Regions from separate parts of the Homo sapiens genome. Here regions 1, 2 and 3 are each linked to region 4. Evidence: promoter capture Hi-C in 16 types of primary human blood cells and fetal thymus (Javierre and others, 2016). All regions are on one chromosome and are shown on one strand. Each heading gives the region's core, a stretch centred on a gene start or on the middle of the fragment in contact. The rest is flanking DNA. Distances are from core to core; before and after follow the strand shown.

Region 1 (2,700 bases), core at 44-2,543, 270 kb before region 4:
ACACTGTACCACTCCAAGATCTGTTCTTTTGTGAGCCAGCATTGTATGTGTGTGTGTCTGTGCGCCCACACATGTGTGCACACGTGCATGCATGCTTTGTTTTGTTTTAATGTCCATATTATTAGGTTACAGTCTTTTCCTTATTTCATTGCTGACTTATTACTAGAAAGGAGGGAGCTAGTGGTTTTCATTGTTGGTATCCCTTGTTTTTAGTTCTGAGAGAAAGAGAAAGAGAGAGACTCTATAATCTGCTTTCATTCTATCACCTGAGCCTGGAGGCCTCAACTAGTTCTTTTAACTCTAATTAAGCCTTAGAGTCTGCAAGTATAAGACAGCTGTGAAGTAGCTCTGCCCTCAGAATTTTGTAAGTACTTTAAGACATAGACAAACACACATACACACAACAAAACAAAACAAAAACATAAAGCTGAGGTGGTTTGGTTGGGTTCCTTGCCAGCTTAGCCTCTTACTCTTGGCTAAAAAACATTTCAAGGACTTAAACTGTGGAATAGTTCTAAGAAATTGCTTAGTCTTATCCCTGGACACTGCAAAATGGATTGCCTCAGATCTAAGAAACCCATTTATCAGAAAAATTCTTCAATTTCATGATATGTTATGGTCGAGATGTTATTGCACAATCCCACAGAAATCTAGTCCCTCTCCTAAATATGCCGAACACCTATACAGATGGAGGCAAGCAGAGAGAGGAAGGTGAGAGTGAACACTTGTTCCTGAAATCTCCCAAGATACCGGCTCTGGGTTAGCATTAGAAGGCCTAAGCACCTGGATCTATTAACCTAAATAGAAAAAAGAAATAACCAAATACTTGTTGAAATAACCAACAAGTATTTGGTTATTTCTTTTTTCTATTTAGGTTAATAGATGGAGCATTACCTAAAAATGAGATGAAGCATCACCTACAAATGTCCCTCAAACAAGTCATACTTAGTTCAGATTATAAAGAGAGTATTTGATAAATGCTGTACGTATAAGGGAATTCGAATGGCACTAGCTTACAGCTTCTTGTGTCACTACCATGCCTCTAATGCAATTTCCCCCATCTAGAAATGTAACCCTCAGCCAGTTGCCTTGAAAGCTGGTTACCGTGGAGATGATTATCAGTATTATGATGACCTATTTAGAAGAATTTCTGCATCACCAGAAAACAAATAACCACAGAGAGAGCCTTTCAAATGAATCATGCTCTTTCTCTGAAAGTGCCTTTACAAACAAATGCCATGGATGTATTGTGTTTGTGTGCTGTGTGTGGATTTGTTCATTATTTGTATTTGCAAAGGTTTTAGTGAAATTCCAGTTGTCTTTAGGCATGCCAAGAGTAGAGAGGGTAGTACAAACAACAGGCATAAGCATATAGACATCTGTCCTCTTCCTACAATTTGAAATGCATGGCCATGGCTGTATTGATTTCTCAGCAATGTTAACATTTCTTTCATTTGTACAGTTTTTCTTGCTCATCCACTGCTTTTTGAGGCTTTTTAAGGACTGCTGGAATGTGGTTGGCAGGTGGTTGGTAAAGACTGGTTTTTACAAACTGATTGGCCATTAATAGTTCCTAAACACACTATGACTACTTGATGACTATTTTGATTTTCTCAAAATTATGTCATGAAATATTCTCTTAACTTCTGTTTGGTCTCCCATTTTTCTATAAAATAGTTTTGTGTGTGATTGTATGCAGACCTAGTGTTTTGTTTTTTTTTTAAGTTTTTAAATTTGTTATCCATTAATCATTGCCCTGCTCCTTATAGGAAAGACTGATTTTCAGCTGCTGCCCTTTTTGGTTTTGTTTTGCTTTTGATTTTTCTTCTTCTTTTTTTTTTTTTTTTTTTGAGACATTTAATTTGCACTTGTAAAAATTTCAGTGATAAAAATTAAACCTTTATTATGTTCATAGAAGCAGCAAATAACAATATAAGCCAAATGTTACCCCAAAGAGGTCAAACAGATCTAATATTTTCCTTCCAGTCTATGAAGGTCGTGTATTATGGCATTTTTATATTTGTTCTTATTGTATTTTCAGGCACACTCCTTTTTCTACTCTCATCCTTCCACCCACTGTCACTTCTTCTAAGGTAATGGCAGGAATGTTCATATTTTCTGCTGTTATTTCATATCATCTAGCAAAGTGCTGGATAATCGATGTTTAATAAACCTGACCCCTCATATAACCTCAAAAGTTTCAAAAGTTCTTTAACCAGATAAACTCCATTTTTGTCTGTTCATGTTCACAATGGCCTTCCAGTCTAGGAATCTCCATTTTTTAAACCATGTACAGGCAGTCTGTTTTCCACAGAACATTTTGGGTTTAAGTCAATTAACTAATTTTGGCCCCATTTTCAATTTCTATACCATAGACTTGTCCTTATGCCCAAAATCACATTGCTCTGAACTGAGGGCAAATATCAAATTCATATTAATCACCTCACTAATATTCTTAGGCTGGTCTGAATGCTATGTAAATCCCAATAAAAATCTTAGTGTGAAAAAATTTTCTTCAACTAAATATAACTCCTTCTCTTTCAATATTTTTTAGAAGTACATTGACATTTTAATTAACAAGTTCTTACTTAAATTTTAACTCCAAAGAGTCTAGCACAATATATTTAAGTAGTCAACTACACAGTCAGTGTAAAATGTTGACTTCTGTCCATCTAACACAGTTGTATAGGAACGGTTTTA
Region 2 (2,700 bases), core at 90-2,589, 290 kb before region 4:
CCATCGCAAGCTCAGATAGTAGAAATTTCTCCCGTAAAAAGTTTCCATAATGCTACACGCAAACCTCTAGGGAACAGTAGCTCCTCTCTTGCCTGGAAGTGCAGGCTACTTTCTGAAGCTGCCATGTCCCACGTGGCCAGTAAGTGCTGCCATGTAAACTTGTGCAATTTCCCAGTCTCAATACAAAATCAAAGCTTCAAGCTTTGGGAGATAAAATCTGGGTTTCAAGTTTGATAAAATATTTTTCACAGTAGTTATCTAGGATTGATCAATTCTGAAGGCTCTAATTTCTGTTCTTCAAGCTAATTTAACACAAGGCAGCCTGAACAATACCACTCTTGGATGGGCAGCCTAAGAAACAGATTTTCGCAGGTGTTTCCTCTGTGCTGCAAACCTAAATAGCCCCCTACATTCAATCACATCGATGCCAGAGGCAGGAAAAAAACTGCAACAAAAGAAGAAAAGAGAGCAAGCTCAGTAAAGCTGAGGACTGCTCAAGAGCCGTTTTGATGTAGAGATCTCTGTGAAAGCTCATTAAATCCTCAGTGTGTGAGGCAGGGCTTAGGGAAAAATAGAAATAGGGATAATAAGACACCATATCCATCCATACTGACATATTTGCAAAGCATTCATTAGTTAAAATCCTCCAAGGAAACTCCATGTGACTCCTCAGCATATTAAGGACCTGAATCAGCTCTTCTGGTTAAACCACAGTCCAGATTAACAGTTACATACTGGAGAGATACAGTTAGTTTTTGTTTTGTTTTATTTTTCATAATACCACGAACAAACCTATTGCAAAAGCAATTCAAAGCATGGTTCCCATAATGAAGAACCAGTTGGGTCCTCTTCAGGAGGAAAGATAGCCCCATATACCATGAATATCTAATACATCTGAATAAATGATAATAAGTCATTAGATGACGGGTGTATATGAGAAAAGCCAAACTTACTAAGTTAGGTCCCCACTGCTTTTATTTTCTGGAAGACATTCATAAGGAAAGATGTATCTTCATGCTTCAGCCAAAACCCAGATGGGAATAAGACCTTCTATTATACAGGATTCCCCAGAGAAACAGAACCAATAGTGAGGGGGTCAGGGGAAGAGGCAGTTGGGAGAGAGGGAGAAAGAGAGAGAGGCTTTATCTTAAGGAACTGGCTCATTCAATTTTAGAGTTTGGCAAGTCCAAAATTTGCAGAGTAGCCCAGTAGACTGGAGACCCAGGAAATACTTGATGTTCAGTCCAAAGGCACTCTGCTGGCAAAATTCCCTCTTCTTCAGGGGAGGTCTTTTTTCTCTTAAGGCTTCTAACTGATTGGATAAAGCCCACCTAGTGACCTCATTGTAATTTAATTACTTCTTTAAAGACATTGTCTCCAAATACAATCTCATTCTGGGGTGCTAAGGGTTACAACTTCAACATATGAATTTAAGGGGACACAATTTCACCCATAAAATACCTCAGTGGGTTTTATTATGATCTAGATATTAGAAAGAGAGAGAGAGACAGAGACAGAGACATGGGGAGGTTGATAAATAGCAGATGTATTTCTCAAAGCAGTGATTCTCAAAGTATAGGCCCAGGCCCAGAAGTATCAGTATCATGTGAGAATTGGTTAGAAATGCAAATTCTCAGCCCCTACCCCAAATCTGCTGAGTCTGTAAGTGGGGCCCAGGAATTTGTGAATAAACCTTCCTTCCTGGTGGTTCCAATGAAGGCTAAAGTTTGAAAACAACTCTCTTAGAAGTTGCTTTATTAAAAGAATGACGCCACCTAAGAAGTTTTCCAACAAACATGGGTGTAAATATCGTTTAATCTGTGTGTTTTCATTAAATATATCAAGATAAGTCATATTTTATAAGTGAGCCTTGGATCTATTTTACTCTTATAAATTGAAAACAAAGCCAGAGCTCCAAGGATAAGCACCACAACACTGCAAAGAAACTTGGCCTCTGAGTACAGATTTCACAGGGTAAAAGCAAAACTGTGAGTACCCAATAAAGCTAATATATCAAATACCAGAGCAGTCTAATTGCTGTCTGTCTGGTTGGAAGCCTCCATTACCTTATGTAATTCCCATGAATGGCAGACTAAATTATAATGGTGGTACTTAATAAAATTCATTCTACCCTCTTCTTAAAAATGAAAAACTATAAATAGAACTACTGAGTGGCCACTTTTGAGCAAGAATGTAATTTATATTATGTCCCAAAACACCTTCCACACCCTCACAAAAGTAGCATTTGCAAATACACCAGCATTAAACAAGCCTCTCCCCCATGTTCTTTGAGAAACTACAGTACACAGGAGCAAGAAGTTTTAATTCACCTGTGAGTTATTTCCAAGTCTTGCTGGATGGTCAGATCTGTGAACAGTCATACACACAACCAACTTATCTGGAGAAGTCAGCTTCATCCGAGCATATATTCTACTTAGTGGTCAAGTACATGTAACTAAAGGTAAAGCCTACATCCAGGAAGCTTACGTGACTTGCGACTTGCGTAGCGTAGGTTTCAGCACATAAGATGCTAGATCAGATTGCATAATGCAACGAGAGCTAACACTCATAATTACTTATGTAAATTATATGGCAAGAATTTCCCAGGCCTTTAGGGAAAAAATGTTTATTTGCGGAGCCTAATTTTTTATATCAGCTATCACGAAAAAGATTGTCAAGGAGCATATTTGACTATTGGAC
Region 3 (2,700 bases), core at 197-2,696, 490 kb after region 4:
TGTATATATCATAGGTTCTCTTTCTCCTGAGCATTCTATAGAATTAGGGCCAATGCCTGATTGAGACATATACTTTACATAGGCTGGGCATGGTGGCTTACATCTGTAATCCTAGCACTTTGGGAGGCTGAGGCAGGAGCATTGCTTGAGTCCGGGAGGTAAAGACCAGTCTAGGCAACATAGTGAAACATTGCCTCTACAAAAAGATAAAAAACAAGTAGCCAGGTGTGGTGGCATAGACCTGTAGTCCCAGCTACTCAGGAGGTTGCTTGAGCCCAGAGGTTGAGACTACAGTGAGCCATGATCACGCCACTGCACTCCAGTCTGGGCAACAGAGTGAAACCTTGTCTCAAAAGCAATTTTTAAAAAGGGGGTAAAAAAATTAAAGAGACGTATACTTTAAATGAGCTCCAATCACATATTCTTGCCCCTAAATGTTATCAAAACTTCCTACTCATGTCAGTGAAATCTATAACAGAGGCTTGGTACGACTCAGCAAATGCAGCAGAAAGCATCACAGCTCAAAGTGAAAACTTGCCAGCATGCTAGACAGCAGGCAATAGAGCCAGTTAAATCCAACTGACCCAATAAGTTTCCTTTAAAATATCTATACCAATTTGCATCACCATAGGAAATGAAAAGTTAAATAGTGCATGATTATACTAAACCAAGGAGCTCCTGGCTTACTATAAGAGATGAATTAAAAAAATAATTGTAATGCAGTGTGATCAATTGACATAGAGGTTGGTTGAAGGCATAAATGAGAATAGGTGGCTTTTCCAGGGTAGAGAAGGAGGTAGCAGAGAGCCTTCAAAGAAAGAAACACTTGTGCTGGTCTAGAAGGAAGATTATGAATTTTTCAGATAGAATGCAGTAGGGATGGAGTGGATTGGAATCAATAGCTGAGAGAATTGCACATGTGAAATATGTGCAATGATACATTTGAGTAATGTAAGAAGCTCAGGATGGCTGAAGCATAGGGAGTACACATCAGCAGGTAGGCTGAAGCAGATATGTAGATGTTTGTACTTTATTGAAGGAAAACCACAATAAAGTTTGCACTTGGAAAGATCACCACGGCAGAAATGCATGAATAGCTTAGAGAGAAAGTCTAGAATCAGGGAAACCCAAGGCTGCTGATAGCCCATGTGGAACTTTTGTACAAATTAGAAAAGAGTACCCTCTCTCAAGTTACTTTTTACTTCATTTTTTGGAAAATGTTTATATCAATAATTACCTTACAACAGACATTTTACTGAAAAGTGAGAAAATTTTTATAAAAATATATAATGCTTACAATACAATTGGTGCCTTCATCAACAGTCAAGTGTAGGGACTGTGCAGAGCACACACTGCATAAACATGTATCACTGAACTGTGGAGACCAACTAGGTAATTACTGCAATAGCTTAGATTGGAGATGACAGTCCTACTGAGGTAGTATGTTCTCTCTCTCACTCCCTTTCTCTCTCTCTCAGCAAATAGCAGCAATAATTCAAGGGCTTGTGATTTATGTTTCCTCAGATTTGAAACAATAGATATAAGATTTGAAGTAGTAGGACTCTTAAGATGACTCCAAGTTCTTTTGGCTTTTTGTTTCTTTTGGTCTTGAGAAATCAGGTGGATAATTACGTCTATCACCTACTAAAATGGATAATAGAGATAGAATCAGGATGTTTTTGGGAGGAGTATATTAGGAAATGATGAGTTCAATTTAGTTTCTGACATGCTAAGTTTGTAGTCTTTGTGGACTTACCTATAGGCAATTAAATGTGTTGATCTGGAGCTCAAGAAAGAGAATGGGCCAAAGCCATAGACTTCATAGTCACCAACACATTGGTAGTTGTAAAAGACACAGGAATGTGTAAGATTCCATGAGCTTTAGAGCATCAAGATTGATGCTTGGCACCATCCTACCAAATAGGTTAGGATAGGCCGAGGGATGAATGAGGTTAGGGCTGCAGGTTGGAGGTCTTCAGCTGGCTGTTGGGAGGCATTAGGGCAGATGGAGATGAACAAATAGGACCCTTGCTCCATAGGAGTGTTTCTCAAATTGTAGTCATTGGACAAGTGGCATCGTGATTCCCTAGGGACATTTCATTAATAGTATATATTCCTGGCTACTAGTGCTGTTGAATTATAATATCTGGATGTGGGACTCTTTTATAGAAACTCTTTATGGGTGATTATTATGTATATTAGAGTGTTCTCTCTTCAAATAGGTCCCTTTTTCCCATAGTTATGGTACTTGAGACTAGATCAATTTGCTTAGTAAGCAAAACTGTAGTTTATGTTTAAACTAGGAATGGAAAATATGTAGCATGTGGCCTTGCATTTCCGTTTCCTATACTAACGGCAAGCCCTTTTCTGTTCAACCCAGTCATGACCTTAAACTATTTCTCAATGCTCTGCTTCAGGCAGATTCTACTAAGCAATGAGTTATCAGGCTAGATGAAACACATTAGCCACACCAGGCTTAACTTCTGGCTATATAAGAAGACAAGACACTTTTAGTGTTAACACATCACTTTAATTTTTTCCTTTTCCACTATAGTTAAGTGGCAGAATAATATATATCTTAATATTTTTCATTCTAGCTAATGTAAAGGAGTTGATAGTAAAAGACGTATTTTTTTCTCTCCCATACTGAGAAGGTTTTACGTCTTAGAGATCTGGGTTTCATTAGCCTCATTGACAATT
Region 4 (2,733 bases), core at 157-2,656:
AGCATTTGTTCAGAGTAAAACTCCATCACCCCCTGCCTGCCTAACTCGGTGAAGGGACAAGTACGAGCCAGGGGAGGTAAACTCTGCGCCCCGGGTAGCTCCCAGGAGGAAGACACCGGGAGGCAGCTGCCCGCCCCGGCCCGGTCCGGCTGCGGCCCCCGCCCGGCTCACCTCTGCGGCAGGGATGTTGACCACGCCGGTGGAGCGCCGCTTCTCCCGCAGCTTCCTCTTCTCGATCTGCCCCTTGCCTTTCCTGGCACTGGGGCCCGAGCTCTTGCCCTTCTCTGGGACGCCGTCCGGCTCCTCCTCGTCACGCTGGGGCGGCGGTGCAGCCGAGGCAGAGGCGGCTGGGGGCTCGTCCTCCGACCGCCGCGGGCCGGGGGCCGCCCGCGTCAGCATGGCGGAGCCGACCGCGCAGTTCACGCCCCCGGGACCGGGGACGGCAGGTGCGGCCGGCGCGCCGCCCGGGAGGTTGTTGTTGAGCTCGTTGGCAGCGGCGGCCGCCGGGGTGCCCAGAGCCCCCGCGGGGGGCTTCCCAGCGGCGTCGCTGCTGCCCCCTCCCGGGGGGGCCGGGCCCGGGGGGTTCTGCTTGGCGCGCATCTTCTCGCGTTTCGCCTTCCACTCCTCCAGGAAGTCTGTGGTGCTGCCGCCGAGGCCGCTGCTGGTCCGGTAGCCACCGGTCGCCATATTCCCAAAGGGGCCGGTCGGGCTCTCACCTCAGGCCGCCCACCAGGGCTCCGGCCGCTGCCTCCTCTTCCTTCCTGCGGCCCCGAGGATGCCAGGAGACGACCTCCAGGAGAGGGACGGCCGCCGCTCCCACAGCAGCCGGCGGGGCTGAGGTGAAAGACAAAAGGGGGCGGGTAAGGGAAGCGTAAGATCCCCGCCCGACCCAAGGGTCTGCCCCCGGGCTGCGCCCCTTGGAGTCCTCGAGCGCGCCCACCAGTCACTACCGGCCAGCAGCCGCCGGGTCCCCACCCTGCAAAGTTTCTCCCACGCACCTACAGTACGGACCCCGACGATCGCCGCCCCTAGAAGGGAGGAGAGAGGACTGACCCCACCCCCAAGTCGGCCCGCCCGCCCCATCCCCACCAAGGTCCGCGCCGGCGGCGGTCGAGATACTAGGGCTAGACCCGCCACCTGTCGGCTCGTCGTATCGCCTGCTCCGCGCTCTAGCCACCGCCGGTCCGAGGTCCCCGTCAGCTACAACCCCACTCCCAAGGCGAGGCGCGGAGCTCCTAGCCGGTTCGCAGAGGAGGCGGGGACCCAGCTGTCCCGCCGAGCGTGGAAAGGACCGGGTGTGAGCGAGCGCCTTACCTTGGAGGAGCTTGTAGGGGACGAGGCGTAGGGCTGGGATCCGGCTCCCAGGTGTGCCGAAGCTGGCGCGCGCTCTTCCGCCGCGCGGAAAGTGCCGCGGCAAACTCGCGGTGCGGAGCTCCAGGCAATCCCAGGACAGGAGGGAGGGAGAAGAAGGAGGGAGGGAGGGAGGGAGGGAGCCAGGGGCGGGAAGGGAGCCGAGCGGCGCCGAAGCACGAGCGGAAAAGGCCGAGGCGGCGCGCGAGGGGCGCGGCGCGCGGTGGGAAGGGTCGTGGCCGCTGACGCCCCGCCCCCGGCGCTCAGGTGCGCGGCGTCGCGTCCGGCCCGCCGCTGCAGCCTGCCCTGCGCCAGCCGTCCTCTGCCCCGCTCCCGCCGCAGACCACAGCGCGCCCGCCGCGCTCCGCCCGCGGCCTGCGAGTTAGACGGCACATTCCTGGGCTAGCAGCTTCGCGGCGTCCGGCCTCCCGGCGCCTCCGACTCCGGGGCGGGAACGGCACTCCACGCCCTTCTTGCTTGTCTTCTCCGCCTCTCTCTTCTCCCACCACTCTTCCTTTTAAGTACAAGACCGTATTATTTGAGAGAAAGTCTCGAACGCTGCTGGCTAAGGGGAAAAGTGCGATAACTTGTGATGATTCAGGGAATGACTAGACAGGATGGGAAAATACCCACGTGTCTCTTTTCCTAGTCGCTGCTCCCTTTTCAGATGTACTAGGGCAGCGGGCAGGAGAATAGAAAGACCTGAGACAAACCCAGCACCCTCCTTCTAAGAAAACTGCGGTGCCCTGGTGAAAAGGGTTGGCTAAGAGGAAGGACTTACTAGTATCTTAGGGTTGCGGGAGAAAAAACTCAGTTCGACAGTTTATTGTATTGGCGATTCCAGTCTTGGAGTTTTCCCCTTAACCCTGTCTCTGCCTCTCCTCTTTACAGAGAATGAATTTAGCAGCAAAGCTCCCTACCAAAGTACTAACGCTGCACTGATGCTAATTTGAGATGAGCTGGGGCAGTGATTGTCTCTATTTTTTCATTATTAACATGCCAGAGGCTTATCCTCTGATGCAAGTCATCTGAAATTTCTGGATCAGAGCGGGGTGGGCTGTCACTGACGCACCTAAGACTGACCTTTCTATATCCAAGTAATGTCAGGGCACATCATTGTGGGAGGCTACAAATGCCAGGTCTCCATTTTGTAAAAAAGTAGGAGAGCCCTAAGTCACGCTCTTACCTAACATAAACCTTTCTTCCTACTTAATATTCCTGTTTTGCCCAGGTAGCACATGATGAGTGAGCAATCAGTGTTTGCCTGCCACAGAACTGGGAACAGAAGAAAGTGATTCACATGCTCTATATTTCTCAGGGAAAGACAGTTTTGGTCTTTGGTCTGGCTGTTGTGGGAAACGTATGGCGAGAGCTCTGGAAAAA

The links. Contacts are between HindIII fragments. The CHiCAGO score rates a contact against its expected background, and 5 or more counts as called.
Region 1: a contact is called between a fragment that was not itself captured here and the fragment with the promoter of PAWR in region 4, in 1 of 17 cell types (endothelial precursors). The highest score is 6.0, in endothelial precursors.
Region 2: a contact is called between a fragment that was not itself captured here and the fragment with the promoter of PAWR in region 4, in 1 of 17 cell types (endothelial precursors). The highest score is 7.3, in endothelial precursors.
Region 3: a fragment that was not itself captured here is called in contact with the fragment with the promoter of PAWR in region 4 in 2 of 17 cell types (megakaryocytes and endothelial precursors); the score reaches 12.5 in megakaryocytes.

What each region holds. Positions count from the first base shown.
Region 1 is chr12:79,423,123-79,425,822 of GRCh38, forward strand. The region is part of intron 9 of SYT1 (synaptotagmin 1); the gene reads left to right. Among named protein-coding and RNA genes, the nearest start is that of MIR1252, 5.2 kb to the left of the region's middle. The HindIII fragment of the contact is 8,979 bases long and covers 1-2,700 here.
Region 2 is chr12:79,402,160-79,404,859 of GRCh38, forward strand. The region is part of intron 9 of SYT1 (synaptotagmin 1); the gene reads left to right. Among named protein-coding and RNA genes, the nearest start is that of MIR1252, 16 kb to the right of the region's middle. The HindIII fragment of the contact is 2,281 bases long and covers 200-2,480 here.
Region 3 is chr12:80,181,801-80,184,500 of GRCh38, forward strand. All of the region lies in intron 1 of OTOGL (otogelin like), which reads left to right. Among named protein-coding and RNA genes, the nearest start is that of OTOGL, 84 kb to the left of the region's middle. The HindIII fragment of the contact is 8,486 bases long and covers 1-2,700 here.
Region 4 is chr12:79,689,558-79,692,290 of GRCh38, forward strand. PAWR (pro-apoptotic WT1 regulator) reads right to left here and starts at 1,407. Exons shown (of 7, transcript NM_002583.4): 1 at 1,315-1,407; 2 at 172-834. The coding sequence starts at 687. PPP1R12A-AS2 (PPP1R12A antisense RNA 2) reads left to right here and starts at 475. Exons shown (of 7, transcript NR_187531.1): 1 at 475-839. RefSeq lists silencers at 115-634, 1,405-1,704. The HindIII fragment of the contact is 6,027 bases long and covers 1-2,733 here.